Regions from separate parts of the Homo sapiens genome. Here region 2 is linked to region 1. Evidence: promoter capture Hi-C in human tissues and cell types (Jung and others, 2019). All regions are on one chromosome and are shown on one strand. Each heading gives the region's core, a stretch centred on a gene start or on the middle of the fragment in contact. The rest is flanking DNA. Distances are from core to core; before and after follow the strand shown. Region 1 holds the start of DNAH8 (dynein axonemal heavy chain 8). Region 2 has its middle 20 kb from the start of MDGA1.

The links. The method cuts DNA at HindIII sites, captures the fragments that hold promoters and counts their contacts. A contact is called where the count stands out against the background at its distance.
Region 2: a contact is called between a fragment that was not itself captured here and the fragment with the promoter of DNAH8 in region 1, in 1 of the 25 tissues and cell types used here (dorsolateral prefrontal cortex).

Annotation. Positions count from the first base shown.
Region 1 is chr6:38,714,061-38,717,843 of GRCh38, forward strand. It overlaps DNAH8 (dynein axonemal heavy chain 8), which reads left to right and starts at 1,251. Exons shown (of 93, transcript NM_001206927.2): 1 at 1,251-1,355. It overlaps DNAH8-DT (DNAH8 divergent transcript), which reads right to left and starts at 1,155. Exons shown (of 2, transcript NR_186581.1): 1 at 1,006-1,155; 2 at 110-238. RefSeq lists a silencer at 1,238-1,287. The HindIII fragment of the contact is 5,796 bases long and covers 353-3,783 here.
Region 2 is chr6:37,715,838-37,719,421 of GRCh38, forward strand. No RefSeq gene overlaps it. Among named protein-coding and RNA genes, the nearest start is that of MDGA1, 20 kb to the left of the region's middle. The HindIII fragment of the contact is 4,655 bases long and covers 1-3,584 here.

The DNA of each region.
Region 1 (3,783 bases), core at 1-2,500:
AGTTAGAGGGTAGGTAGGTCTTGCATTTCGGCACAGTCAGCAAGGATATTCAGGAACTCCCTTGCTCCCATAAGCTTATATTGTATAATCACTGAGTAATGTCTATTAATATGGATGGACCATGGTTTATTTAATTTGTGATTTTTTATATTCATTCTTGTTTTTTTTTTCAGTTGACAGACCTTTCAGTCCTCATTCCACATTGATCTGCTCTACATTCAAAGACTGACTTTCACACCTGTAAGACAAAATAGTTTATGTAAGAAGCTATATTTGCTCATTCTGCTTGCCAGCAGAATGTCAGAGAATTCTTTGGCAGCTACATTTCACAAATCCCCTAACTCAGTGACTAAGTGCAGCCCCTGGAAGAATGCCCCTGAAGATGATAACATCTCTTGCATGAATCTTTTCTTGCAAAAGTTCCAGGATCCTAACTCATGCCTCTTCCTGTACATAATAAGATAATAGCTGATAGGATTAATGATTATGCCTCTACAATCTATAACCAGATGTACCCTTGAACCCCACCCTTGATGAGATTTTGCTCTAATGTAACTGCTGAGCTCATTTGATGTAACTGCTGAGCACATCTGATGCCACTTCCCATCACATGCCACCACCTGTACCTAAGCTTTGGAGCAGTCTCACAGAAAGTCTCTGAAAGACTCTCCGGATTGCAATCCTTAGTAAGACATCTGAATAAAACTAATATTAATTATTTAAATGACTGATTTTTTTTTCTTTGGTTAACACACCCAACTAAAAACGGACCGCTCACATCATGTCAGGCAGTCACAGCAAAAGCAGAACCGTACTAGAGAGGGGAGGGGGTGGACTTGGGAGAGAAGTCAGTTTTCCCCCAGAATCTTTCTCTCTCATCAGTCACAGGTTTCTGAACACACTGACTCACCAGGAAACACTTTTTAGGTTCTCAAGGAAAACACTAAGTAACTTCAGAAACTGTAAAGGTCATAGAAAACATTATTTTATATATTTCCGTATTACCACGTATACGCGGGAATCCTCCCAAGCCCCTGGCACCGCACTCCAAATGTCCATCTCCAGGAACCCGCCCTTCAGTGCCTGGGGTCCCCTAAACAATGTTTCAGTCCTCGGGCTCGGTGGGTGCATCCTTTATTGGGGAGCGCGGGGGCTGCCCGTGCCCCTCCAGTCGCTCCCCGTAGGGAGCTGCGCACTGCGGAGCCCTCGCCCCCGAGCGAGCCTGTCTCGGACTCCCAACCGTCAGCCTCGTTCCGGGCCGCGGAGGCCGGAGCAGCTCCCCCGGGGCAGCGCAACCGCTGGGGCCGGCCTCAGTGGGCTGAGTGGTCGGGGCATCGGGGCCCAGAGAGCGGCTGGTGAGTACTTGGTCGGAGCGCGCTGTGAGCGCCCGGCCCCTGTCCGGGAGGCCCTGATGCAGCCGGGTTCCCCGCCCACTTTCCTTCTTTTTAGGGGACTGGAATCCACGCTACAGTTCAGTCCTCCACCTCTGTTAGTTGAACCCAGGGAACCCCTGCTTCAAAACCCCAGCTGAGTCACTACCCTTTGTCAGTCTCTACACTGGACATCTAAGTGACTTCACACCCACTCCCCGTTTTGAGACTAGAAAACCAAATACCGCACGTTCTCACCTATGAGTAGGAGCTAAGCTATTGCTACGCAAAGGCATCCAGAGGGGTATAGTGGACTTCGGAGACTCAGAAGGGGAAGGGTGGGAGGGGGGTGAGGGATGAAACAACTACATATCGCTTGCAATGTATGCTACCTGGATGACCCTGAAGTCTCAGACTTCACCACTATCCAATGCATCCATGTAAAAAAACCACCTGTACCCGAAAAGCTATTAAAATAAATAAATAAATAAATAAATATATATATATATATATATATATATATATATATATTTTTTTTTTTTTTTTGAGACGGAGTCTCACTCTGCCGCCCAGGCTGGAGTGCAGTGGTGCGATCTCGGCTCACTGCAATTTCTGCCTCCCTGGTTCAAGCCATTCTCCTGCCTCAGCCTCCCGAGTAGCTGGGGCTACAGGCACCCGCCATCACGCCCGGCTAATTTTTTTTGGTATTTTCAGTGGAGACGGGGTTTCACAGTGTTAGCCAAGATGGTCTCGATCTCCTGACCTTGTGATCCGCCCACCTCGGCCTCCCAAAGTGCTGGGATTACAGGCATGAGCCACCACGCCCGGCCATATACCTATATATTTTTAAAAATTCAAAAATAAAACAAAAAAAATGCCTCTCCCTCCGGCTTATTTCCCGTTCCTCTACCCTTCTCATTCCCCTCTAGCCCAAAAGTCTCATCACTGAATTTACCACTTTTCCCAAGATAGTTGTGCCTCTTTTTGCTTCTCTGCTTTTGTACGCCACTGTTCCCACCTTCTGCCTATAATGTTTCTCTCTCCCATCCTCTCCTGACAACTCTTCTTTAGACCCGACTCGGGTGGTACCTTCTCCGTCAAGTTTTCTTTCTTTCTTTTTTTGTTTTTCAGAAGTTTTGCTGCCTGCTAAGCTCTCTTAGCCCTTCGTTAATTCACCTGTCATTGACATTGACCATCTTGTGTTGTATTCAATAGTCTGTCACACCAATTTGATTGTGCATTTTGCTTTGGAGAAGTCCTTAGTCTTTTATGTAGCCACAGTGGCCAGACATGCAGAAGACGTTCAATATTGCTGAATGAACTAATGCATTTGGGATAGGGTTACAGAAATGGGTGCAAGAGAAAAGGGTGTGGTTGAATTGGCTGTACCCAGCACACAGGTATGCAACTTGCTCACTTACTGTAGTATTCCTAGGAGGGGAGGAGTTCAACACCTGGAAATGCTCCTGAAAATAACCAGGATGCATTTCTTGTTGACTTTGCAGAAGTTCACTGAATCCTTAAAATTTAACTTAAGAAGGGATGGTGGGAATTGAAAATGATTGCATCCAGCCTGGGCAGCATAGTGAGATCCCATCTCTACAGAAAAACCAAAACCCAAACCAAAAAAGAACAGCCAAGTGTGATTGTGTACGCCTTTAGTCCTAGCTACTTGGGAGGCTGAGGTAGGAGGATCGCTTGAGCCCAGGAGGTGAGGACTGCAATGAGCTGTGCTCACATGACTGTACTCCAGCCTGCACAACAGAGCAAGTTGTCTGTGAAGGAGAGAAGGACCCAGAGAAAGTGAACAAGTGTTGATGCCACATTCACTCTGTGTGCTTTGCATCAGCAGAATGTGAATGCTTGGGGGTAGATTCGTAGGGAATTTCAGGTCTTATTTATTTATTTTTTAAGATAGGTTCTCACTCTGTCACCCAGACTGGAGTGCAGTGGCGCCATCTTGGCTCACTGCAGCCTTGACCTCCTGGGCTCAAGCTATCTTCCCTCCTCAGCCCTCGAAGTAGCTGGGACTACAGGTGCACGCCACCACGCCCGGCTAATTTTTTGCATTTGTTGTCAAGACTGGGTTTCTCCATGTTGCCCAGGCTAGTCTCAAACTCCTGAGCTTGAGCTCAGGAGTTTGTATGTTACAGTATATGATATGCACAGATGTAATACAACTAAAATGTACACATGATTTTTTTTTTTTTTTTAGAAAAGAACCATACAGAAAGTTAGGAAATTGGAAAGTAAAAATTCTTCTTCTACTTCCCTTCTTCAATTTCTTTCACTCAGAGTGATTCTTATTAATAATTTATTGTGTATTCTCCCTAGAAAGCTTATAATGTACTTTATCAAATCTAAACTATTACTGATTACAATTTTTTTGCAATTCTGTACATGCAAATTAGGT
Region 2 (3,584 bases), core at 79-2,578, 1.0 Mb before region 1:
AAGCAGGGACTCCTCTTGCCCAGGTCTAAGGGGTGGTACTCCCTAGAACTTCTGCCATCACAGCCTCTGGAAGTTGGGTGCCTCTGCTGCTACACTCACCAAAATAGAGGCCATGCTTCTTCAGAGACTTCTCTGGATACATTTATTTGGGGCAGCCTAAGTTACATACCTGGTATAAGGGAGCCCAGGAAAGCGAGCTTCTGGCTGCTACTTAGGGGAGAGGCAGACACATAAGATATGGAGGTTCCAGATAAAGAAAGAAGGCTTAAAAGCCCCAGGCAGCCAAGAAGAATGACAAATGTCTAGTACAGTCCACCTCTTGGCTGCCCAACATCAATATATACCCTTCTTCCTTCTCAGACTTACCCACCACGATGACCACCATGAAAACCTAACATGATGTAATTACTCTTCACAATGAAAACTTACCCTTTTCCCCAAAGGGGGACAACCCATGTTCATATCAGTAAATACACCAGGATAACCAGGGAGGTCCATTCTCCTTCTAATTCTGTCATGATTCCATTTCAAAATTCTATAATCTATGCCATAAATTGCAAATATAACTATCAAAAATATCCTTATATAAAAATAATGGGGAATGAAGATGGGAGAAATAAGGAAGTTTGGTTAAAAGAGATAAATATATCCGTAAGAAAAGCAAGGAGTACACTATGGGTGGATACTATAATTCTTGTTTCTGCAACTGATCACAGGCTATAGTTGGTATTTGTCATTTCATCCCATGTCCCACTTGTCTTCATGAGTACCTCAGCTGATCAGAGGTCTTTATCTGGTGGGGTCATCTTAACCTTCTTTCTGGAGAAGGCTGAGCCTTTGATGGTGTTGCCTGTTTGGGGTTGGTATGGTCTTCCATTAACTTTTTCTTTTGAGACAGGAGTTTTGCTCTTGTTGCCGAGGCTGGAGTGCAATGGCACAGTCTCAGCTCACTGCAACCTCTGCCTTCCGGGTTCAAGCAATTCTCCTACTTCAGCCTCCCAAGTAGCTGGGATTACAGGCATGTGCCACCATGCCCGGCTAATTTTTTGTATTTTTAGTAGAGATGGGGTTTCTCCATGTTGGTCAGGCTGGTCTTGAGCTCCTGACCTCAGGTCTTGACTAACTTCTTGACTGCCTTGGCCTCCCAAAGTGCTGGGATTACAGGCATGAGCCACTGCACCCAGCCTCCATTAACTTTTACCACCTGACCTAGAACTACTTGTCCTACAAGTCCTATTCTTTCTTGCCCCCATTTTTTCTCATTCATAATTAGGGTTAGTCATCCCAACCGACACTATGATCTCCCTTTTTGCATGACAAACTAAAAGGGCCTGGTGACAATCTCACCTTCCAGTTCAATGGAACCATTATTGTCTTCCTGTGGAAGCATTCCTACCTTGGATATTAGTCTTGTAAACCATGAAAGCTTGGAGTCATGTGGATGGGAAGGAGAAGACTTGCAAATGGGTCTTTAAGTAAAAGAGTGAGAGAGATCTGGGCTGGAGACAAGAATTTGGATTTCATCGGTGCATTGAAACCAAGATCATGGATGCAGTGCCCCAGAGAACATGAAGATGAAGACAAGAAGAGAGCTAGAGACAGTCCCTGGGGAACATTGCCTTGTAAGAGTCCACCTGGGGAGGTGGTACCCTGGGGAACCAGTGAATTGGGGTGGTTTTTCTACCAGAGCCCAACTCTCTCTTTAGTGACCTCTCCAACCCTGGGCAGCAGCATCCCATCCTGTCTAGAACAGGCATGTCAAGAGTTCACACTCTTTGGATGAAGAACACCTCCCTTCAGTCATGCTATAGACCGCGTGTTACAATGCAGCATTTCTGAGGAAAATCCCCAGAAAAGTTAGTCAAGCAATCTGAAAAATGGGAAAAAGTATTATAATTCTTTTGTGAGAATTAGAGCTTCATAATCAACATAGAGATGTTATTTGTTCAAAGGAATCAACTGATGTCAAGTTGAAAGCAAGAGCCAGAAACCCTGATACATGGAGTTGAAGGTTAAGGTCAACATCTCTGGGAGCTAGGACAGGAGTTCATAGGCAAGAATGTCACCATCTAATCAGTCAGTCTTCCTGACTGGGAGCTGTTGCCCTCATATCAGTGCATGTTTGTGGCCCTGTCTGCTGCCAATGGTGAGTCATTCTTACAAATAAAATAAATATTAATAAGTTATAAGCGCAGTATACTTAATACCAATCCTGTGAGCAATGTTTCAAGAAATAAGTTTTGGAAGCAAAATAAGCCCTTAAGTTGGCAATTGTAATACATGTAGTACTTACTGTTAACCTTGCTAGGAGATCTGAATATTACATTCTTCAAATACTGTGCAGTCACGGTCACTGCCCTTTTCCAGCATTTGAATATTTGCTATGGCAGAAATGCAAAGAGAAGAAGATAGGAATGTGGTAGAATTCTCAGACACAAAATCGGAAACTGATCTAAAGTCTGAACGAATAAAAGCAATATCTATTTCAGTGACAAAAAGAAAATCAGGGAAAGCAAAGTACTTTCATTGTTAAAAGATAAATAAATGAGCTTATTTGAAGCATATAACATATAGCATGCTCTAACACCCAAATTGAAGATGCGTTTAGACACATGCTTAATGATTCAACCCATATCAACACACAATATTTTTTTCTATATCTGGGATATTTGTTACAAAACAAAGATCAAGAGTGTCAGGCTAAAATCTTAGCTGGGTATGGTGGCCCACGCCTGCAGTCCCAGCTACTCAGGAGGCTGAGGCAAGAGGATCACTTGAGCCAGGGAATTCGAGACGGCAGTGAGCTATGATTGTGCCACTGCACCCCAGCCTGGGCAACAAAGTGAGACCTTGTCTCTAAAAATAAAATAAAATAAAAACTTTTTAAAAAGGCTGTTAGGTTAATTATTGCTTTGTGTGTTTTAAACTTTTCATTTTTAGGCTGGGTGAGGTGGCTCATGCCCGTAATCCCAGCACTTTGGGAAGCCGAGGGAGGAAGGTTGCTTGAGTTCAGGAGTTTGAGACCAGCCTGGGCAACATGGTGAAACCCCGTCTCTAGAAAACATACAAAAATTAGCTGGGCATGATCGTGCATACCGGTAGTCCCAGCTACTGGGGAGGGTGAGGTGGGAGGATGGCTTGAGCCCAGGATGGGGAGGTTGCAGTAAGCAGAGATCATGCCACCACACTCCCTCTGGGTGACAGAGAGAGATCCTGTCTCAAAAAAAAAAAGTAAAATATAATTTTCATTTAAGATGAAAAAATTTTAATATTAAATATTTGTGTTAGCTTTCAATTTTTTAATGATTTTTATTTGGCATTAATTTTGTGTTAATGTTCCCTTATTTTAATGTTTTCGCTTATGAATTATCTACATCAGGTAGGGAGCAAATTTGCATGTTATTAAAATATATAATCTTGTCAAAATATATTGGTTCATAGAAATAATAATTCATGCATTTAATATATCTTTTTCATAAACAAAAGACCTTTGAAACTTTTAACATAACCCTATCACAGAAAAATGATTTACTATTTATTATTTACAGTCACTCATTATTTACAATCATTTTGTTTATTTATTT